Regions from separate parts of the Homo sapiens genome. Here region 1 is linked to region 2. The links are contacts of gene promoters, found by promoter capture Hi-C in human tissues and cell types (Jung and others, 2019). All regions are on one chromosome and are shown on one strand. Each heading gives the region's core, a stretch centred on a gene start or on the middle of the fragment in contact. The rest is flanking DNA. Distances are from core to core; before and after follow the strand shown. Region 1 holds the start of FES (FES proto-oncogene, tyrosine kinase). Region 2 holds the start of BLM (BLM RecQ like helicase).

Region 1 (3,192 bases), core at 593-3,092, 170 kb after region 2:
GGGGAGGGGCGCTGGCCCAGCCGGCCTCTCTGGCCTCCCACCCGATGCTGCTTTCCCCTGTGGGGATCTCAGGGGCTGTTTGAGGATATATTTTCACTTTGTGATTATTTCACTTTAGATGCTGATGATTTGTTTTTGTATTTTTAATGGGGGTAGCAGCTGGACTACCCACGTTCTCACACCCACCGTCCGCCCTGCTCCTCCCTGGCTGCCCTGGCCCTGAGGTGTGGGGGCTGCAGCATGTTGCTGAGGAGTGAGGAATAGTTGAGCCCCAAGTCCTGAAGAGGCGGGCCAGCCAGGCGGGCTCAAGGAAAGGGGGTCCCAGTGGGAGGGGCAGGCTGACATCTGTGTTTCAAGTGGGGCTCGCCATGCCGGGGGTTCATAGGTCACTGGCTCTCCAAGTGCCAGAGGTGGGCAGGTGGTGGCACTGAGCCCCCCCAACACTGTGCCCTGGTGGAGAAAGCACTGACCTGTCATGCCCCCCTCAAACCTCCTCTTCTGACGTGCCTTTTGCACCCCTCCCATTAGGACAATCAGTCCCCTCCCATCTGGGAGTCCCCTTTTCTTTTCTACCCTAGCCATTCCTGGTACCCAGCCATCTGCCCAGGGGTGCCCCCTCCTCTCCCATCCCCCTGCCCTCGTGGCCAGCCCGGCTGGTTTTGTAAGATGCTGGGTTGGTGCACAGTGATTTTTTTCTTGTAATTTAAACAGGCCCAGCATTGCTGGTTCTATTTAATGGACATGAGATAATGTTAGAGGTTTTAAAGTGATTAAACGTGCAGACTATGCAAACCAGGCCCAGTCTCCAGTGTGGTACCGTTGCTCCTGCATCGCAGCTGAGGATAGGGGGCCAGTTAGGCCTACACAGTGGCCTGCCTGCCTGGATGTGGGCCCAAGTCAGAAGGCCAAAGTCCTCCAAGGGGCGGGAGGATGCGCCAGCCCCTAGTGGAGGAGCTGGTGCCCCTGGGGTGGGGCTGGTGACCCCTGGTCCTCAGGAGCTGAGCACTAAACTCCCAAAGTCCTGGTTTCCAGCAGTGTGAAGAACTGGGCCTATTGTGTCTTCCTGGGCTGAAGTGATCTGGTCGCCACAGGCTATAGGGCTGAGGCCTAAGGTGGAGGGAGGCCTGACTGAATCAAGATGACTTCTTGTGGGGAGCCTGAGTCCCAAATGGAAAACTCCACGCCTGTCCGCTCCCCAACCCCTGCCCCTTGATTTCCCCAGGTCTCCCTTGGGACAGGAAGCCCCTGCCTGGGGGTAGGAGGATGGGGACAAAACCACTAGGATCTGTATCCGAGAAGCAGTCTCTGTTCGGGATATTTACTTGGAAATTTTATTCAAATGGAAGCTGGCGCCTGAGCCTCTCCTTAGGGAATTCCGTGAGGTGGGGAGGGCTGGGACCAGGGTTCCCTCTTTCTCTTCTGCGGTGGCCCTGGCCTGGTGCTAGGACTGCGCGCCTCCCCTCAGTACCCGCGGACACCCTGGGCTTCCCTGGGCCCAGCATCTGCCTGGGGCCTCGCCCTGGGCTCCCCCTCCTGACCCCCACCTTGCGCCCCTTCCCGGTGTTCCCGGGGCGCTGCCGGGCCCTGGGGCCTGCGGGGCGCGGGCGGCTCTTGGCTGGGCCATTCTTTCCCGGCCCCCTCCTCCCTTCCGTTTCCGTGGCCGTGCGGCCGGCTAGAGGCTGCGGCCCAGCGCGGAGCAGGGGGGCTGGCAGGCGTCGGGGCGGTCGGGCCGGTCCCGCCCGCCCCTTCCCCTCCACAGGCCCGCCCCGGGGCCTGGGCCAACTGAAACCGCGGGAGGAGGAAGCGCGGAATCAGGAACTGGCCGGGGTCCGCACCGGGCCTGAGTCGGTCCGAGGCCGTCCCAGGAGCAGCTGCCCGTGCGGGTACCTCTAGCCCCGGGGCCTGGAGGAGCGGTGGGAGCTGGGGGCGCGGCAGGCAGGGGCAGAGCAGGCGTTCCGAGGGCCAGAGACCCACCCAGGTGGGGGTAGGGGCCGCGGAAGGGCGGGGATGGCCGCAGGGGCAGGGCTCAGGCTGTGGGCGCCTGAGGCTTCAGCTGGGGCAGGCTTGGCCTGTCGAGGACCTGGGCAAGGGTGTCCCTGTAAGGGGTGGTGGGTGGAAGGGCCTGGGGAGGGAGGCTCCAGGTTGGCTCCTGTTCCCGAACGTGCGGAGGAGACCCTGACGCTAAGGAAGCAATGAGGGCCAGTCCCCAGGCCAGGCTGCTGCTGGGTACCCATGGCTGCGTGTGAGCGAGGCAGGACCCCACCTCCTCCCCGTCTGCAGTCCATCCTGACCCTACAGTCCCCAGTCTCCTCGTCCCATGCCTCCGTCTCCAGCTGCTGCCTTGCCTCCAGGGATGGCCCCTTTTCTGTCCCCAGAACAGCACTATGGGCTTCTCTTCCGAGCTGTGCAGCCCCCAGGGCCACGGGGTCCTGCAGCAAATGCAGGAGGCCGAGCTTCGTCTACTGGAGGGCATGAGAAAGTGGATGGCCCAGCGGGTCAAGAGTGACAGGGAGTATGCAGGACTGCTTCACCACATGTCCCTGCAGGACAGTGGGGGCCAGAGCCGGGCCATCAGCCCTGACAGCCCCATCAGTCAGGTGGGTCTCTATGGGACTCTGGTGGGTGCTGGCTGTATCTGCCTTCTCCTTCCTCTCCTGGGGGCCCTCTGGGGCAGTGGCTGGAGATCTGGCAGGCCAATGCTTGGGAGCCATTGTGCCCCCCTCCCTGCCTCCCCCATCTGTGCTGTATAGTCCTGGGCTGAGATCACCAGCCAAACTGAGGGCCTGAGCCGCTTGCTGCGGCAGCACGCAGAGGATCTGAACTCAGGGCCCCTGAGCAAGCTGAGCCTGCTCATCCGGGAACGGCAGCAGCTTCGCAAGACCTACAGCGAGCAGTGGCAGCAGCTGCAGCAGGAGCTCACCAAGGTGAGCGGGCAGCACTGGGGCTTCGGTCATTTCTGTCTAAATTTTGAGCCTCGAAGGGGTTGTTTTGCACAAGAGGCCCTGGATTCACTGGGGAAGTGTAAGTCCCTGACCGCAGGCCTGGCTTGCTCTAACCTTGATGCAGCTTCCTCTCTTCCTTCCCCTACGTTGAGCTGGCTTGCAGCAAGGCCTCTCTGTGCTTTTTCTGTGCCTGGGCAAAGTGCTGGGAGTGTAAGGATGAGTGACCGGTCACGTGCCTGGGAGAAGCTCA
Region 2 (3,214 bases), core at 257-2,756:
CCTTTGGCTATTATGAATAAAGCTGCTATGAGTCTTTTGGTGAATAAAGGCATTCATTTTTTGGGGTAAATATCTAGAAATGGGATTTCTGGGGTATAGGGTAGGGGTAAATTTGATTTCAGTAGAGACTGATGTTTCCAAAGTGGTTGTACCATTTTACACTCCCATCAACACTGTATGAGAGTCCCATTTCTGCATCTTTGCAACTAAGGGAATTGTCAGTCTTTTCATTTCAGCTATTCTATGGAGTGTTTAATAGTATCATATTTTGGTTTCAATTTACCATAGAAGATTTTCAGGAGGGAGGTAACTTGAACAGATTTTTACATTTTAGAAAACTCTTTCTGCGTATTATGTGGAGAATGATTATTTGTATACCAAAGTTCATAGCAGCATTATTCACAATAGCCAAAAGGTGGGAATAACCAAGCATCCATTTATATGGATGAATGGATAAACAAAATGTAGTATACATGTATAATGGAATATTATTTAGCCTCAAGAAGGAAGAAATTCTGATACATGCTACAACATAGATGCTCCTTGAAGACATTATGCTAAGTGAAATAAGCCAATCAGAAAAGAGCAATTATTGTATGATTCAATTTATATGCGGTACCTCGCACTTACAGACAGAAAGTGCAATATCGGCTATAAGGGGTTGTGAGAAACGGGTAACGGGGAGTTACTGTGTAACAGGCAGATTTTCTATTTGGGATAATGAAAAAGTTCTGGAGATGGATAGTGGTGATGGTTTCACAACAATGTGAATGTACTTAATGCCAGTGAACTGTACACTTAAAAATGGTGAATTTTATGTTAGATAGATTTTATCACACACACAAAGAGGAGGGAGGGCGGGAGGGAAGGAGAGAGGGAAGGAAGTAGAGAGGGGAGAAGAGAGGAAGAAAGGAAAGAAAGTAAGATCTGGCATCACAGGGCCCACATTCCCGCGTGTCAGCAATAGGCTGAAACAGAAGCATGGTTTCTCACGTGTCCATGGAGGCATCTGAGTGTGTGCCCACTTTCCCGGTTCAATGACAATTTGCACCTGCTCGTGTAGAGGGGTACGGGTGAAACAGAGACCAGTATTATTAAGGGGATGGAGAGGAGAGACCGCCAAAACATCGCAGAGACACACCGTCGGAACCAAGAGAATGGGGTGCAGACGCCTGGCTTGGCCTGTGGGAACTGGCAAGTCTCAGCTCTCAAACGCCCGGGCTTTTCAACCCGCCACAGCCGGGTTCCAGCTGCCTACTTCCTTTAAAGCCTTCACCGACTCTAAAACACCAAAAACAAAGACCCAACTAGCTCCGGAAGCCCGAGATGTAACCGTAGTCATCTGACCCTCCCGTCCGGACTCTGATTGGGCTTTGGAGATACGCGTCCCTCCCGGCGCTGTACGGCGACCCCGCCCCAGCAGCCTGAGGGGGCGGGAACAGATGTCCGAGTGCGACAGTATTGGTCGGCTTCCCCAGGAAGCAGCCAATCGGAATAGGCAAGCTTCCGGCGGGAAGTGAGCCAGGGCTTGGCGCGGCGGCCGTGGTTGCGGCGCGGGAAGTTTGGATCCTGGTTCCGTCCGCTAGGAGTCTGCGTGCGAGGTGAGTACCGCGCGCGTAACTACGGGTCGGTCCGCATTGATCTAGCCCTGCTCTGGCGGCCCGGCCCGGAGCTGGAGGCCGCTCGGGTTCTTCCGTTTCCTGCACTGGTTCGCCTCGGCCCGCTGAGTCCTCTAGTCTGGCCAACATCCTGGGAGGACAGCAGATACATAAATACGTTCCCAAATGGGGAAACAGAGGCCCGGGGCGGGGGCGAACTCTGCCAAGGTCTCCCGGGGCGTCGGAGGCCGAGCATGGGCTAGGACCTGGCATGTTGTTGCCCATATACTCCAGTGCGTAACATGATGCCCTGCACAGAGTAATCCCAGCCCAGACCTCTGGCACTACTACCTCCGTGTCCCTCCTGAGGAACAACGAAAACACTTTGTACTTTTTCTGTGGCCTTCCATAATCACGAGCTGGGCTACTCTTGTTTTTGAGTGTCTACTGTGTGCCATGTTCCTGGCACCCTTGATCTTACAACTGTAGCTTTACGATATCCCAGCAAAGCGAAGTGCTTAAGAATACTGCATCAGATTGCTTGGGTTCGAATTCTGGCTCCTTCACATTTAGCTCTGTGTCTACTGCACGTTACTGAAACACTAAGTGTCTTGGTTTTCGTCTGTCATATGGGGGAAATGGTCTCTTCTACTTCCTGGCGTTTTTGTTAGGATTAAACGACTTAATATATGCAATAATAAATGCTTCGAAGGCTACCTGTTACATAGTACACAGTAAGGGTTCTGTTATCATTACCCAGAGAAGCGGATGAAATTGTCCCCATTTTAGACATGGAGAATCTGAAGTACAAAGAGGTTGTCTCCGTACAGAAAGAGCATTTGGTGATTAAGTGCTAGAGATACAGGATTTGAACTAAGCGCCTGATTTTAAAGTATGTCCCACAACATTAGGCTTTCTCCTATAGCCCTCACCTGTCCTTAGGTCACACAGAACTTTAGGTACCTCATGGCGTGAGATGGAGCAGGTGACTGACAGCTCCTTGTGCCACCCATGCAGATAAATAACACTGGTGTGTCACTGTCAAGATTAAGGGACAGGAATTCGAGAGACTGCATGAGAGATCAGAAGATGAAGAAGCGGGTAGGCAAAAGTATTCTGTTTGGGGAATAGTAAATAGAATTAATTAAATCAACATTTTGTTAGCTGGGCTGCTTATACTGTCAGACAGTAGCTTATAATCTACTGGGAAGAAATGAAATTTCTGGGTCCTGTGTCACTTTCAATGCCACTCACCATGACAGGTACCTTATAAGTATAGTTTACAGTCCTATCAGTAACCTGGAGAAGTAGTTATTTCCTTCGTTTTACTGAGGAAACCAAGAGTTAAAAAATCAGGAAAAGTGTTAGATGTGCAGTAGAACATCATCATGCTGGGAAGTTCTACACATCCGCTTCAGGACAGGTGGTATTACCTATGAGCAGGAAGGGAAGGGAAAAAGGTAAGGGGAATGAGTGATAGTTTATTGTTTTGATTTTTAAATTTTTATCTGTTTTTTCCTTTTTCATAGTCATTCCTGGAATGAGTGAGTTTGTTTTTGTTTTTGTTTTTGGGGGATGGAGTCTCGCTCTGTCGCCCAGGCTGGAGTGCAGTGGCG

The links. The method cuts DNA at HindIII sites, captures the fragments that hold promoters and counts their contacts. A contact is called where the count stands out against the background at its distance.
Region 1: the fragment with the promoter of FES here is called in contact with the fragment with the promoter of BLM in region 2 in 2 of the 25 tissues and cell types used here (spleen and stomach).

The regions. Positions count from the first base shown.
Region 1 is chr15:90,882,662-90,885,853 of GRCh38, forward strand. It overlaps FES (FES proto-oncogene, tyrosine kinase), which reads left to right and starts at 1,843. Exons shown (of 19, transcript NM_002005.4): 1 at 1,843-1,883; 2 at 2,376-2,597; 3 at 2,751-2,924. The coding sequence starts at 2,385. It overlaps FURIN (furin, paired basic amino acid cleaving enzyme), which reads left to right. Exons shown (of 16, transcript NM_002569.4): 16 at 1-796. RefSeq lists enhancers at 892-1,021, 2,559-2,988 and a silencer at 1,419-1,928. The HindIII fragment of the contact is 25,407 bases long and covers 1-3,192 here.
Region 2 is chr15:90,715,840-90,719,053 of GRCh38, forward strand. It overlaps BLM (BLM RecQ like helicase), which reads left to right and starts at 1,507. Exons shown (of 22, transcript NM_000057.4): 1 at 1,507-1,601. CRTC3-AS1 (CRTC3 antisense RNA 1) reads right to left here and starts at 1,301. Exons shown (of 4, transcript NR_120372.1): 1 at 1,142-1,301. The HindIII fragment of the contact is 5,728 bases long and covers 1-2,858 here.